2 separate regions of the Homo sapiens genome follow, and region 1 is linked to region 2. The links are contacts of gene promoters, found by promoter capture Hi-C in blood cells and fetal thymus (Javierre and others, 2016). All regions are on one chromosome and are shown on one strand. The core of a region is centred on a gene start or on the middle of the fragment in contact, and the rest is flanking DNA. Distances in the headings are between cores, read along the strand shown. Region 1 overlaps PBRM1 (polybromo 1). Region 2 holds the start of TNNC1 (troponin C1, slow skeletal and cardiac type).

Region 1 (6,502 bases), core at 345-2,844, 99 kb after region 2:
TTCAAGGTGTTTTTCTTCTGACAACACATTCTCCTGCAACTGAAGCCTGTATTTAATTTAAGCAGGAATGGCACTGGAATCAGGCTCAGCAGTAAGCAATGTGCTAGGACAGCAGGGACACAAGGGAAGAGGCTGTGGAAGTGCATAGTTAAATGAGCTTTGTGAAGGCTGAAGGCACAGCCTTGCTATCCCCTCCCAGACCATCAGCAGCTGGTTCTAACTGGAGTCACTAGTGCTGGCAGGGAGAGAACACTTCCATCTGATAGAGTAGCACTCTGAAAAGGAATCATCTGAAGTGAAGTAACCTTGTTGCTATTGCTTTATATGCAAAATGACAAAGGAACAGAGAGACTTCATGGCCCTACTAGATTTGTACTATGTCCCTGATAATAATTTTGTAAGCTTCCCTCAGTGAATGCTCACGAGCAATTGTTGTCTCACAGGCACAGCTGATAATAATGAGATGTCCTAAATTTAGTGTCAGAGGCTCTTTTGATTTCAGGGTGCATATTTGCTATTCTGATAAAATACAGAAATAGGCAAGGGACCCAGTTCATTAAAATCAAATAAACCTAAAACTGTGGTGAACTGTTCTTGAAAACTTAAACAAATCCTGCTGGCTGTGTAGAAGAATCGAGAGGAGGTATAACTTCATAGTGTATAGTCCCTTCGGATTAAAAATCGTAATATTTTGTCCAGGCAGAAGCAGCTCCTCATTCTAAAGTTCAGAACTGTTTCATGAATTTGCATGTCATCCTTGTGCCATGCTCAACTCCATATTGTTCCAATTTTAGTGTATGTGCTGCTGAAGCGAGCACTAAGGTTCAGAATTGTTAAATGCCACTTCCAGGAAGCATAAGAGAGCCTCTTATTTGTTAGAAAATAACAAGTAAAAAAGCTTCTGTTTAAAAAGCAGGGAGTTTTATATTCCAAGTACCCAGAAGTCCACCCGGATCACCAAAGTAGGATCCTGATGATTATTCGTGAATGAATGAAGAGGTTGTGGTGGGTAAGCTGGTGCCCCAGCAATATATTATTAACCTCTGTGCCCATCACCTCCCTGTGCCCTGGGACACTCACCCACCTTAGATTCCAGAACACGGTGTGGCTCCCTAAACTGTGTAAATCATTGCTTTGCAGGGCAGCACAAATCAGCAAACTCTTCTGCTTCCTCTATTGACAAATGCCATACTTGGGCAGCCGGTGAGAATCTGAGCTGAGTCACCAAAAGAGCTCAATGAATCCCCTACTCCTCTAAGCCTGCTCAGACATGTGCATTTGTAGGCACTAAGAGGGGGTCTTCCCTGACTCCTGGCTTCTTTTTTAATTAAATAAAATAGATATGGGGTTTCACCATGTTGCCCACTGGTCTTGAACTGCTGAGCTCAAAGCAATCCTCCCACCTCAGCCTCACAAAGTGCTGGGATTACAGGATTGAGTCACTGTGTCCGGCCCTGTCTCCTCAATTCTAAGCAGGTGTGTTGGGCTTCCCTCCAGTTGAATTTAGGATTTCAGGAAGGTGGAAAGGAAGACAGCTATGTCCCAACACCCACCAAAAGACATCTGCAACCTAGAGGGTACTGGCATTAGACATGGATCCCACTAAGTGCACCTAGAAGGTGTAAACTCCAGCCTGGTCTTATTGGCTCAGTGATACCCTGTATCAAGGTGAGAGGGCAAAAAATTAAGGCCAAGTCTACCTGCCACATGGGAACATTTACCTTATGACTGACTCCTGCTGCAACAGCAATTCACACAGTCCACTGTTTTCATATGAAGCACCTAACCCTACAAACACTTCCTCCTCTGGCAATACCTGGAGCAAATGCTTCTGTGGAATTATGGCCATATTCTAAGCAACTCTCACAAAGAGTGTGGCTGGAGGCTCCAGGCCAGGCCACCAAGTTTGCTCACTCTGCACACTGCTGGGTGCACCCTCCAAAGCATCATTTGGTACCCTGCAAAACCCTATCACTGGTAGGTCCAACACTGGTACAAGCAAATTTAACAAGTTTCCAACCACATTTTACCATTTGGGTTGGGCCCTTAGCTGATGTTGTAGGTAATGGACCAAATGCTTTCCGAGTCTTCCAAAGGTCACATTCCCTCCATCCAGATTACAGCTAAGAGTTCTTTTGCATATGATGGCAATTAATATGGGAACATGTGATTTTCCTTTCATTTAGGTTTTCTTTAAAATAATCTTTCAACTTGCTAATTCACATTTTAAAGTGAAAATGAATGTCGCTATTTCTGGAATCCATTTATATATTTCTATATAAAAGAACTTCTAAGCTTCTGTTGACAGACAAACCAGTATCTACAGCTAGGAGGGTAGGCTAGGCTGTTCTTTAATGTCAGGCTTTTTTTTTTTTTTTTTTGAGACAGGATCTCATTCTGTCGCTCAGGCTGGAGTGCAGTGGTGCGATCACCACTCACTGCAGCCTCAGTCTCCCCAGGCTCAGGTAATTCTCCCACCTCAGCCTCCTGAGTAGCTGGGACTACAGGCACATGCCACCACACCTGGCTAATTTTTCCTTTTTTTTTTTTTTTTTTGACACGGAGTCTTGCTGTCGCCCAGGCTGGAGTGTAGTGGTGCAATCTCGGCTCACTGCAACCTCTGCCTCCCAGGTTCAAGTGATTCTTCTGCCTCAGCCTCTCGAGTAGCTGGGACTACAGGTGCCCGCCACCACGCCCAGCTAATTTTTGTATTTTTAGTAAAGACGGTGTTTCACCATATTGGCCAGGCTGGTCTCGAACTCCTGACCTCAAGTGATCCGCCCACCTCGGCCTCCCAAAGTGCTGGGATTACAGGCATGAGCCATCGTGCCCGGCCTAACACCTGGCTAATTTTTATAGAGATGGGGTCTCACCAGGTTGCCCAGGCTGGTCTTGAACTCCTGGGCTCAAGTGATCCACCTTCCTCATTCTCTGAAAGTGCTGGGATTACAGGCATGAGCCATTACACCTGGCATGTCATGCTTCTTAGGGAACTCACATACAGAACACTAATTCAGTGAAAATGCATTCCCTCCCTGCTTTTTGTTCTAAGACAGACTGAGTGAAAGATTTCTGAAGAGTTCTACCTTAGCAGCTCTGCAATCCCCTTAGAAAGGCTGCTTGAGGAGAAGTAGGAGATGGAACAGATACTCTATACCCTGTGAGATAAGAATTGCACCAGAGGGAGAAATGCAACTCAGGGGCAAAAAATGCTTTTACATGTTACTCTGAACTAGCAATTTGGGAAACTTCATTCACTGATAAGAGGACACAGCCTTCTAGGCTGTCTGGCTTTTCAAGGACATGTCAAATTAGTTGAGTGATTATCGATAGAGTATGCCTCTTGTCCCTTGGTTTGCTGAGTCTGGCCTCTGCCATGTGTGCTGTGCTGCTGCCAGCAGCCAGGTGCACAAGGGCACAAGTGCTGGGCCACCTGCTGAATGCACAAGACATGCCCTGCTGCTGACAACCTTTGGATTCTCAGGGAGGGAAGGCCTGGCCACAATGGGCCACGGGTGCCTCCTGGAACAACTGGTTGAAAGCGGAAAAAGAGAATATGAAGATGAGATTAATGAGTGAATGAGGATGAAGTTCTTACCCGGTGGTGGGATGCCCGGGAGGCCAGGCACACCTGGCGGAAGATGGTGGGGTGGAGGCCCCCCAGGGTGAAGTGGCTGCATGCTGCCCATGCTAACAAGGCCATCAACTGGGCCCTGCAAAGGTGGAAGGCCTGGCGGATAGCCACCCATCATGCCTTGAAGGACACAACAAATTTCAGACATGCATCATTAACATGCAACATGAGCTAAGTAATAACAACCAACCCCCACATGCACTACCAATGAATAAAGCACCCTTAGTACTGCATGATATAACAGCAATTAGTGCAATTATTTTGCTGCAATAATGAACAAAATAAAAAGTTACAAATATGAGACCCAACATTTTGGGATGAATTAGTACTTAGTACACTATTATTTGTAGTTATTTTCCCTGGGGTAAATATGCTGCATGTTTTCAGTTAAATAATAGTAAAGAGTTCTAGTAACAGCCTTCCCAAGGAAATAATTATTGCAAGCTGTTCAAACAGAGTGACCAGTTCTGCTGACTGCAATTCTAACTGAATAGTATAAACCCCATCATTCCACTCTGCCCACACTCATATGCCTATCATGGGTACACATGAGGGGAAATAGGAAGGGAGGGAAATGAGCGCATAGTCCTGATCACAAAGCATGGTTCTCCAGCTTTGGGGCAGGAATTGTTCAAGACTTCTACATCTACTCCTCCTTTCTAGCCTTACCACTGCTGGTAAGAATGGATTGTGCTTGGGCTTGAGTTGGGGAACAGCTTCTAAGAACCATCACAGTGAATGATATTTCCTTCTTTAGATCTAAAAATGTGATAAAGATAAAACCTAAACACTCCCAACCAAGCCAACCAAGTCCAGGTCACTCAGGAGCCTACACACAGACTTTACGGAGGAATGGCTGGAGAATTGGGCTCTGCTGATATGAGAAAATGCCAAATGCCATCAGTCTCCAAGCTCAAATGTCCTCATATAAACCTTAACAGGGAGCATTTTAATTTGAGGTACACAATTTCTGTGAACAGAGGCTTTTATTCCTTTATTTTCAAAGTGTACCTACACATGACAAAATATTTTCTACTGGCTAGAGAAGAGTTTCAGCAAACAAGTATTTTTGGCAGAAGGAATAAATGTAAGAAAAAAAATTCAAAATGTCAAGGACTCACCTATCAAAAGACCTTTAAAACCACATGGCATTTTTTTAAAACAAGAAAAACAACTTGACTTTTCTGGGATTTGTAATGATCATGATGAATAAGAACACAAAGCTCCCCCCAAAATGCAGTCACCTTTGGTCACAGCTTCTTGCAAAGGGAGGGTTGAGGGACTGGTGCCAAACCTCATTTTTATAAAATACTCTTTGCAGAGGGACTCTGTCAAATAGTGGAAAACTTCAGATTCTGAGAATTTTACTCTTGGACTTTCCCTGAAGATTTCAAACATATTTATTTATAAAAGTTTAGTCTTTTAAGGCTATGAAATTACTAAAAATTCTGAGGTCGATTCACCCTGCTTCACTAGTCATACCTAAGCTGACTAACTTACAATTACATAAACCGAATGACAAAAATTTGAATAATAATCTCTCTATACATAAGATTATGAGTTTTCATTTTTTTTTAAATGAAGAGTTCAGAAAGTAAAAACTACTTTTGAACAGACACCATCATCTTAATTAAACATGAAGAGATCCAATGCTACCAATCTTTTAACCACACCACCAGTTATAGCATTTAGGGTTAAGTAGGCGGGAAATTTAAGGATGTTAAGAGGCTTTGCTTTCAATTACAAAAGCCCATCTGAACGCAGCCTTCATGGGCTGTGGTTGAGGAAATTATTAAGAACTGAAAGACATGACACTTGTCTTCATTAAACTGTACTTTGGCATTTATTATCCCAGTCACATGTGTTCAAATGAGCTTCAATGCTTGTAAGCAAAGCTGGTCTCAAGACAGCAACAAGGCTAATAAGTAAGACTCAGGCCCTAAGAAACCTGTAAAACCATGAAAAATCACCCTCTTAGCTGCAGGGTTCCCCATGAGGACCAAAGAGTGGTTACTGCAGAGAATGCTTGCTTTTCACTCCCAGGGCCCAGAAGTCTAGCCAGCACACCCTAAATAATGGAGCAGGGGCTTTCTAGAGGGACCACCTTCCTCATCCATAGAGTTCTATAATGTTCTTCCCCAACAGGGAGCTAAAATGCTGCAGCTGCTGTTTTTTTTTTTTTTTTAATTGTTTTTAGCTGTTTGTATTCATTTTGTTAATGTGCCCCTGGGTTTTGAAGTCAAGGGCACAGTGCCACAACGTCACACATCAAATAGAACAAAACACAATGTCAACGAGGGAATTCTAACTTTCAAAGTCCCCATGTTCAAGGCCTGATTTCTAAAAACCTCTGGAACCCCATTAACCAAAATGGGCCATGGAATAGAGCAGGCGATTATGAGATTTGTTAGATCAACATCAGTTACACTGAAAGCACTGAAAGCCATGATTCAGATGTGCTTTGGCGAGTGCAACTGCTGAGTTCAGCGACAGTGCATTTGAGAACTTGCCATCACAAAAGTTAGGAGCGACAATGGAAAAGTTATCCTATGCTACTCTTCCTTAAAAAGCAAAAACGAAACAGCAAAAACAGCATCCCAACAAGCCTGCCTTGAACAACACTATTTTGGACTCCCTGTGAAAGAGGTCAGACTGCTTGCTTAAGAAGAAACACAGGTGGCTTGTACAGACCTCACCAGGACTGGAGAGATCTCAAAGAAGGGGCCCGAGAAGTGGTCTGCAGACTTCTCATTGGAGACATGTCAGACAAAGATATTCAATTCAAGAACAGTCAAATTTGCTATGGCTACCAGAACCAGAGACAACACACACAGACAAACCACATTCATCATTTTCTTTTTCTTTTTT
Region 2 (6,753 bases), core at 672-3,171:
TCATCGATCATCTCCTGCAGCTCCTCAGGGGTGGGGTTCTGGCCCAGCATCCTCATCACCTTGCCCAGCTCCTTGGTGCTGATGCAGCCATCCTCAGCGCCCAGCACGAAGATGTCGAAGGCTGCCTTGAACTCTGTGTTCAGGGGTTGGGGGGCACAGTAGTCAGGGCTCAGCAGCCAGGACCACGGAGGGCCAGAACCCTGGGGCCACCTGCCAACCTGCCCACCTCCCTCGGAGACCTCTCTGAGGGCAGAGCAAGAGGGACCAAGCCTCTGGTCTCTGGCCTGGGGTCCTCTTCTGATAAGGGGTCCCCATGCCAGCCTGGACCCGCTGGTCTCCCACATGTGTGATAGGGATTCTCACCATTTTTCTGCTCTTCTGTCAGCTGCTCTACCTAGAAAGGAAAGGGAATCTCAAGGCTCAGACTCAGGTATAGCTGCTGCTGAGGAAACCAACCCATTCCACAGGTGAGAAGGCTGGAGCTGGAGGAGGCAGGCTATTTCCAGGCCACAGAGTGGAGGTCTCAGTCCTCCCTCCCTGCCCCCAAAGCCCTGACGTGACCCAGCTGGCCTCACTGCGACTGGGCTCAGGGCCAGGGTGACAGGTGGGCACCCCCTTCAGGACCAAGGTGACCCTCAGTAACAATAGTCAGTGACCACTCAATGCCCTTTCGGCCCCTGATGAAACTCAAGCTGGGTGGCCCGAAGGACAGCTGTCCCTCAAGTTGGGATAATAAAACCAGTGTGGAGGCAGGCAAGCCACCCACGGTAACCTGACCAGGGTGGCCACTGGGCTATTTTTAACGAGGAACAAAGTTAAACCTGGTGATTGTTCTGGGGACTTTGGCATGCAGGGGGTGGGGCAGCGTTATCTGGCCCCCTGGCCTGCTAGTGCCGCCTCAGAAGCCAAAATTAGTCCCCAACTCCGCCAGGCCTTGTATGGGCACTGGGTGGAGGGCTGTCCCAACCCCGGCTCCATGGACTCCCACAGGATAAGCAGGCGTGCCCCCAGAGCTGGCTATAGCACTTCCCTGCCCAGGAGTGAGGGAGGCTGAGGGAGGGGTTCCCCTGGGGACAGCTGGCCATGCCAGGATGTCCTTGCTCTGGGGTTGGGGGAGGTCACCACCACCCAGGATAGAATAGCATCTGAAGACCCTCAGTGACCCAGGAGGTTGCAGGGGCTTGGGGTGACCACTCTCCAGCCCTCATTCCCTCGCTCTCACCCCTAGCTAAGCCACTGAGCCCTGAGCCTGCCAGGCATGATGGGAGCTGGGGCCCCAGTTCTCTGTTCCTTCTTCCTTGGTTCTCCCTCATGTCCAGAACTTCCCTGCCTCAAACTTCAAAGCCCCATCTCCAGCCCAGGACTCAGGCTCTACAGACCCCTCCTCTCACACCCTCCACCCTCCAAAGCATCTTCGGCCCGCCAAGGGGCTGGAGTGGGGTGGCAGATTTTGAGCATGTGAGAAGCAGAATGTGAGGGGCAGAAATGGGGGTTGGGGACAGGGAGACAGTAATGGGGACTCAGACAGCTCAGGAGGAAGAGATGAAAAGAGAAAGGCAAAAACGTCCAGAGACAAATGCAGAGACATGTGGCTGAGCGACAGTGCCACAGACCACAGACACTTGGAAACAGAGAGTGAGACACGATGCTGAAAGCTGCAACCTCCTCCACCACCCTTCAGACCCGGAACCCCCTACCCCTTCTGCATCCTCAAACACCAGAATCACTGTCCCTGTGAGGGCCTGGGTTGAAGGCACGTAGGCCTTCTCCTTGGTCCCCACCACTTCCCTGGGGCTACTAACCCCGCACTCTCAGCTGAGTGAGCCCCCAGTGGGCCTGCCCACCCCAGCCCTACCCAGCCCTGTCCCTCACCGCAGCCTTGTAGATGTCATCCATGCTGGCGGCTCACAGGACAGCTTGCTGGGGTTGCCAGCCGGCCCTTGACTTAAATAGCCCTGCCCCGCTGCATTCCTGGCCCAGCCCAGCCCAGCCCAGCCCACCCCTGCGTGTAGTATCCTCCAGCCCCTCCTCTGGTCCCAGTGATCTCAGGCTGGCCTGAGTCCCCACGTCCTCTGCCCAGGGCAGGGAGCAGACGAACGGCTACAAGGACCAGGTTTCTTTCCCTCCTGTCCCCCACACTCCCCAAAGGGACTCTCTGAAAAGGTTTCTGGAATGAATGAAAACATAAGCCCAGTGCAGGACAGGAGCTACAAAGTCGTGGGCCCCAGGCAAGGTGCAACACAACAGCTCAGGCTCCCATCCAACCAGGTTGGCGGGTTGCCATGACCTCCACTTTCCAGATAAGGAAACTGAGGCTCTGGAGGAGTGGTGACTTGCCCAAGATCTGACTGACTTGGTAACCCCCGCCTTTAACTAAACCTCTCTGGAATGGGGGTGCAATGTGCAAGGAGAGGCTAGGAGTGCAGGGCCCTGCCAAGAGAAGCCTCGAATGCCAAGCTCATAGTAAGATGCTGTGGAACTGGTGAAGGAGGAAGTGACTGACCCACCTTAGGACAGGGTGGCCAGGAGCCCTTCTGCCAGAGGAGCCTGTCCCAGACCTCCCATCTGCCCAGGGAGAAGTACCCACTTCGGGCTTAAGTCAGCTGCTCTCAGTTATTCAACAGCACCCCTATAGATGCCCCATCTGTGGCAGGCTCTTTCCCTCCTCACCCTCCAATTAGGTTACCACCTCCCTCTTCTAGGTCTCATCTTTCCCCGGTTTAGGATTCAGCACTGTAGTTCCTGGGTCCAGATCAACCTGTCTCCCTCGTTTTGAACTTTGGCAGGCCACCCCGTGGGGTTCTTGTGCTCAGTGGCAGCACACACCCCTCCATCCACCTACACCTTCCTTCGTACAGAGTTCGTATCAAGTTTATCCCTCTTGATAAACACGCTCCCTGCCTCGAGCACTACTGCGTGCTGGGCCGCGCATCAATCAACCCACTCAGTTGTCCAGAAGCCCCACTGACAAGAGATCTCCGAATCTCAGAGAGGTTCAGAACTGGCCCAGAATCACTCTCGCCCTGCTCCGGCGGTAAGCACAGGTCCTATTTTCCCCTCCAACCTGCCTTGCCCTAAAGAGAAAGAGCCCAACAGCCAGGTGAGGCACTATTATGGCCTCCTTTATCAGGAGGAGTAAACTGAGGCCAGGAAGAGCAGTGACTTGCTTCGTGTGGCCTGGGAGACTCGGGACCTTCTGTCCCCTCTTCCCGAGGACCCAGGGGCGATGCCCAGAGCTGTCACCACCCGGGGTCTCAGTTTCTAGCAGGCTGTGCAGGGTACCGCCGGCGGCGCCACGCAGGTAGATTACGCAAGCGAGCACCTCGCACGCGCGCCCTGAGTGGCCCCTGTCAGTCACGCGCGGGGGCGGGGCGAGGGCGCAGGAAGAAGGCGGGGCCAAGATGGCGGCGCAGCGCGCGGCGGGGGCGACGGGCGGCGGGGGCCGGGGGGCGGTGGGACGTTGACCCCGCCCCCTGCTGCTGCTAGTCTGCGCCGGGCGGCGGTGGCGGCGGAGACCCGAACATGGCGACCGCGCGCACCTTCGGGCCCGAGCGGGAAGCCGAGCCGGCCAAGGAAGCGCGCGTCGTGGGCTCGGAGCTTGTGGACACTTATACGGTGTGTTGGGGGCGCGGGCACCCGAAGCGGGGGTGGTGGCTGGAACCGGGAGTCCGACTCGGGGGCTTGGGGAGGGGTCCGGGATCTGCAGCCCCGAGGAGCGGGTAGAAGGGTCTGCGATTGCGAGGAGGGGGCTGGGACGGGGGATCTAGGAAAGGGATCTGGGCCCCGCAGGTCCGGGAGAAGGGTTGCTCGGGGCCCGGGGAGGCGGTTTGGAAAAGGGTACGCGATCAGAAAGGGAGGCTCGGGTTGGGGGCGGCATCTGGGGATAAAGGGGGCTTGGGGAGGGGGGTGTCTAGATGAGGCGGAACCCCTCTAGATCCTCTAGGACTGGAGGGGCCCCGGCCTGGAAGACCGTTACAGGGGTCCAGGAGGAAGGCGATGGGGAGAGGGTCTCTGATGGATGGAATCAGGGAAAAGGGTCAGGCTTCGCAGGCCTTGAAGAAAGAGAAGGCGTCAGGACCCTGATCTGGGGAGCCTGAGGTGGTGGTTGAGATTTTCTCTGAGAAGTGCAGGAGAGACCTGGGGAGCAGATGCCTTGGGGGTCGGGCGGAGACAAGACCGGAGGAGGGGTGGAGCCCATCTATGGAGAAATGGGGGTGGTCTCAGTGCTAAAGCGCAGGCCCTATAAGCCTTAGGAATCTTCGTGACTTTGGGCTGTGGGAGCGAGATGGGGCAACAAGCTGCCCACACACACTTCTAAGCTATGGGGGAGACAGAGGACAAATAGCGGGTAGTTCCCGACTTTGACGGGGTTGGATGCCAGGCCTGTGAGCCTGGTGGGCTGCCTGGCAAAAACCGGCCCTGGACTAGGCATAGAGCACCTCCCTGCCTCCTCCCCTTTGTTCCCGCAGGGTAGGGAGTGGGTGGGGGCCTTGGGCCTGCCTGCACCTCCCCTCCCTGGCCCTCATCCTAACCTTCCGCTCTGAGGGCCATTCTTCTGGCTCTTTTCTCCTTTCCTGAAGGCAAGGGGAAGGAATCAGGCAGGATGGGAAGAGGAGAGGGGTGGATCTTGAAGCAACAGGCCAGCCTGGAGAAATGGCTGCTCCTCAGGGCTGGAGGAGGCTTCAGCTCCATGCTGCAGAGAGGAGGGGGAAACTAGGTGCAGGAGGCGGGTGAGGTCTCTAAGCTGATGGCTGACTGGCCATCAGCTATGGGCACATTCAGCCAGAGGGCCATCTTCAAAAAGCTCACCCTATTCTGGACTGCGCCCCTCCTCTGCATGTATGTCGGGGGAGGTGGTGATCTAGTTTGGACCCTACCATCCTCTGTCTCCGGGTGTGCCGAGTTGGACATTATTAACACACCTACCTTTTGAACACTTGCCATGGGTCAGGCCCATGTACAAAGCATTTTACATGCATTGCCTTACTTGGTCCTTGATTCTAAGATGGAGGAACTAAGGCTCAGAGAGAACTTAGGCTCCAAGTTACTTATATAAGTGACACATAAGCTGCAGCCAGGAAATGGCAGAACCAGGTTTTTAACCCAGGCCTTCCTTAACCTCTAGGCCATATTGCCTCCTGATAGAGCTTAGTTGCTACCACTCCCTCCCCACATCAGCTGCTTGTGCCTTGATTCCTGGCTCAGCAGCAGAAATCACAGCCATGAACCAGTTGAAAGGGTTGGAAAATGACTTGCTTCCAGGAGGTAGTCAGGGCACCTGGAAAGAAGTACAACAGAGAAGATGCTCAGGCTAGAACTGGCCCTGCTCTGCCTCCCTTGGAAGAAATGGCCTTGCCTGCAGCTCCGGTTGGGTTTTGAGTTACCTAGAGGCAGGAGGTAAAAAACTAAAGAGGTGACTTGTGGTAATCACCTTTTTCATTCCTTACTGATGGATGGAGCCACATGCTTGTCTCATGTGCCTCCCAGCCCTAGTGCTTGGGCCATGGAGGAAGCTGAGAGGGGCCCTGCTGGTCAGCAAGGGTCAGGTGCAGAGGCTGGTGGGCAAGGGCAGCCTGACTTTGGCCTTGGGGTGGGTCTGAGTTGCAGAGAGAAAGACTGATAAAAGATAATTGGGAAAGATAATTGCAGCTTTTGCTGCTGGGGGAGGAGACTCCTTGTTGCTGGGCTCCCTTGCCACAAGGGCTGTTGGTTTCCCCTTTTAGGTTTACATCATCCAGGTCACTGATGGCAGCCATGAGTGGACAGTAAAGCACCGCTACAGCGACTTCCATGACCTGCATGAAAAGGTAACTGTTAAGAGCTGGGAGCACGTATCTCAGGGCTGGGGGACCCGTAGGCCAACTTTCCATTGTGCCACATATTAGTTTTAGGGCAAAACAGGTTCCATCTCTATAGTTCTTTAATAAACCACTTTGTTAATATAACTGCGTTCATTAATATAGCATGTAAATGCTAGCCTTCAGCTCTAGCATGAGCCACTCTGCAAGGAGCATATTTGAATTTCAGTTTTAATATTTCCAGTCCTAGCTTGGGTATGAGATGCTCAGACAGTTTCCTGGGAAGGGGACAGGTTTGAACTTGTTTGATCTAGCGATAGCTATTCCAAAGCCTTACTTTAATATCTGGCTGTGATTCCATCTCTTTTTTTTGCTTTTGGAGATGCTGTCTTTCTCTGGGTCATTTGCAGCATAACTGTTTTAAAGACACACCGCTGCCCTGATTGGTTTTTACTCTGGCTTGGAAAAGATGGCAATTTTAGGGGCAAAAGGTGTTACTTTTCTGAATGTCTCTAAAGTCTCCAGATGGAATTCCTTGTCTAGAATTGTATTGGTATTTCTAATGCTAATTGGATTTAAAGAGGCCAAATCCCAGGTGCACTAGTTTGGTCACTGATTTTGGTACTACTGCAGGGAGGGGCTGTGCAAGTGCTGACAAGCGCCTGCCCTCAAGCTTCTTGCCTTGGTCTTACATAGGCACAGAGCCTCTTAGTCTGTGGTTGATGTGCTTATGTTTTTTTACAGCTCGTTGCAGAGAGAAAGATTGATAAAAATCTGCTTCCGCCCAAAAAGATAATTGGGAAAAACTCAAGAAGCTTGGTGGAGAAGAGGGAGAAGGATCTGGAGGTCTACCTCCAGAAGCTCCTGGCTGCCTTCCCTGGCGTGACCCCCAGAGTACTGGCCCACTTCTTGCATTTTCACTTCTATGTAAGTTCCTCATCGGGTTTTCACCTGT

What was found. Contacts are between HindIII fragments. The CHiCAGO score rates a contact against its expected background, and 5 or more counts as called.
Region 1: a fragment that was not itself captured here is called in contact with the fragment with the promoter of TNNC1 in region 2 in 3 of 17 cell types (M0 macrophages, M2 macrophages and M1 macrophages); the score reaches 6.5 in M0 macrophages.

The regions. Positions count from the first base shown.
Region 1 is chr3:52,551,126-52,557,627 of GRCh38, forward strand. PBRM1 (polybromo 1) reads right to left here. Exons shown (of 32, transcript NM_001405607.1): 29 at 3,599-3,754. It also overlaps the pseudogene RNU6-856P. Among named protein-coding and RNA genes, the nearest start is that of UQCC5, 18 kb to the left of the region's middle. The HindIII fragment of the contact is 1,397 bases long and covers 897-2,293 here.
Region 2 is chr3:52,452,120-52,458,872 of GRCh38, forward strand. TNNC1 (troponin C1, slow skeletal and cardiac type) reads right to left here and starts at 1,922. Exons shown (of 6, transcript NM_003280.3): 1 at 1,873-1,922; 2 at 364-394; 3 at 1-133. The coding sequence starts at 1,896. It overlaps NISCH (nischarin), which reads left to right and starts at 3,485. Exons shown (of 21, transcript NM_007184.4): 1 at 3,485-3,615; 2 at 5,724-5,807; 3 at 6,543-6,725. The coding sequence starts at 3,523. RefSeq lists enhancers at 1-784, 4,464-5,139 and a silencer at 3,410-3,639. The HindIII fragment of the contact is 13,067 bases long and covers 1-6,469 here.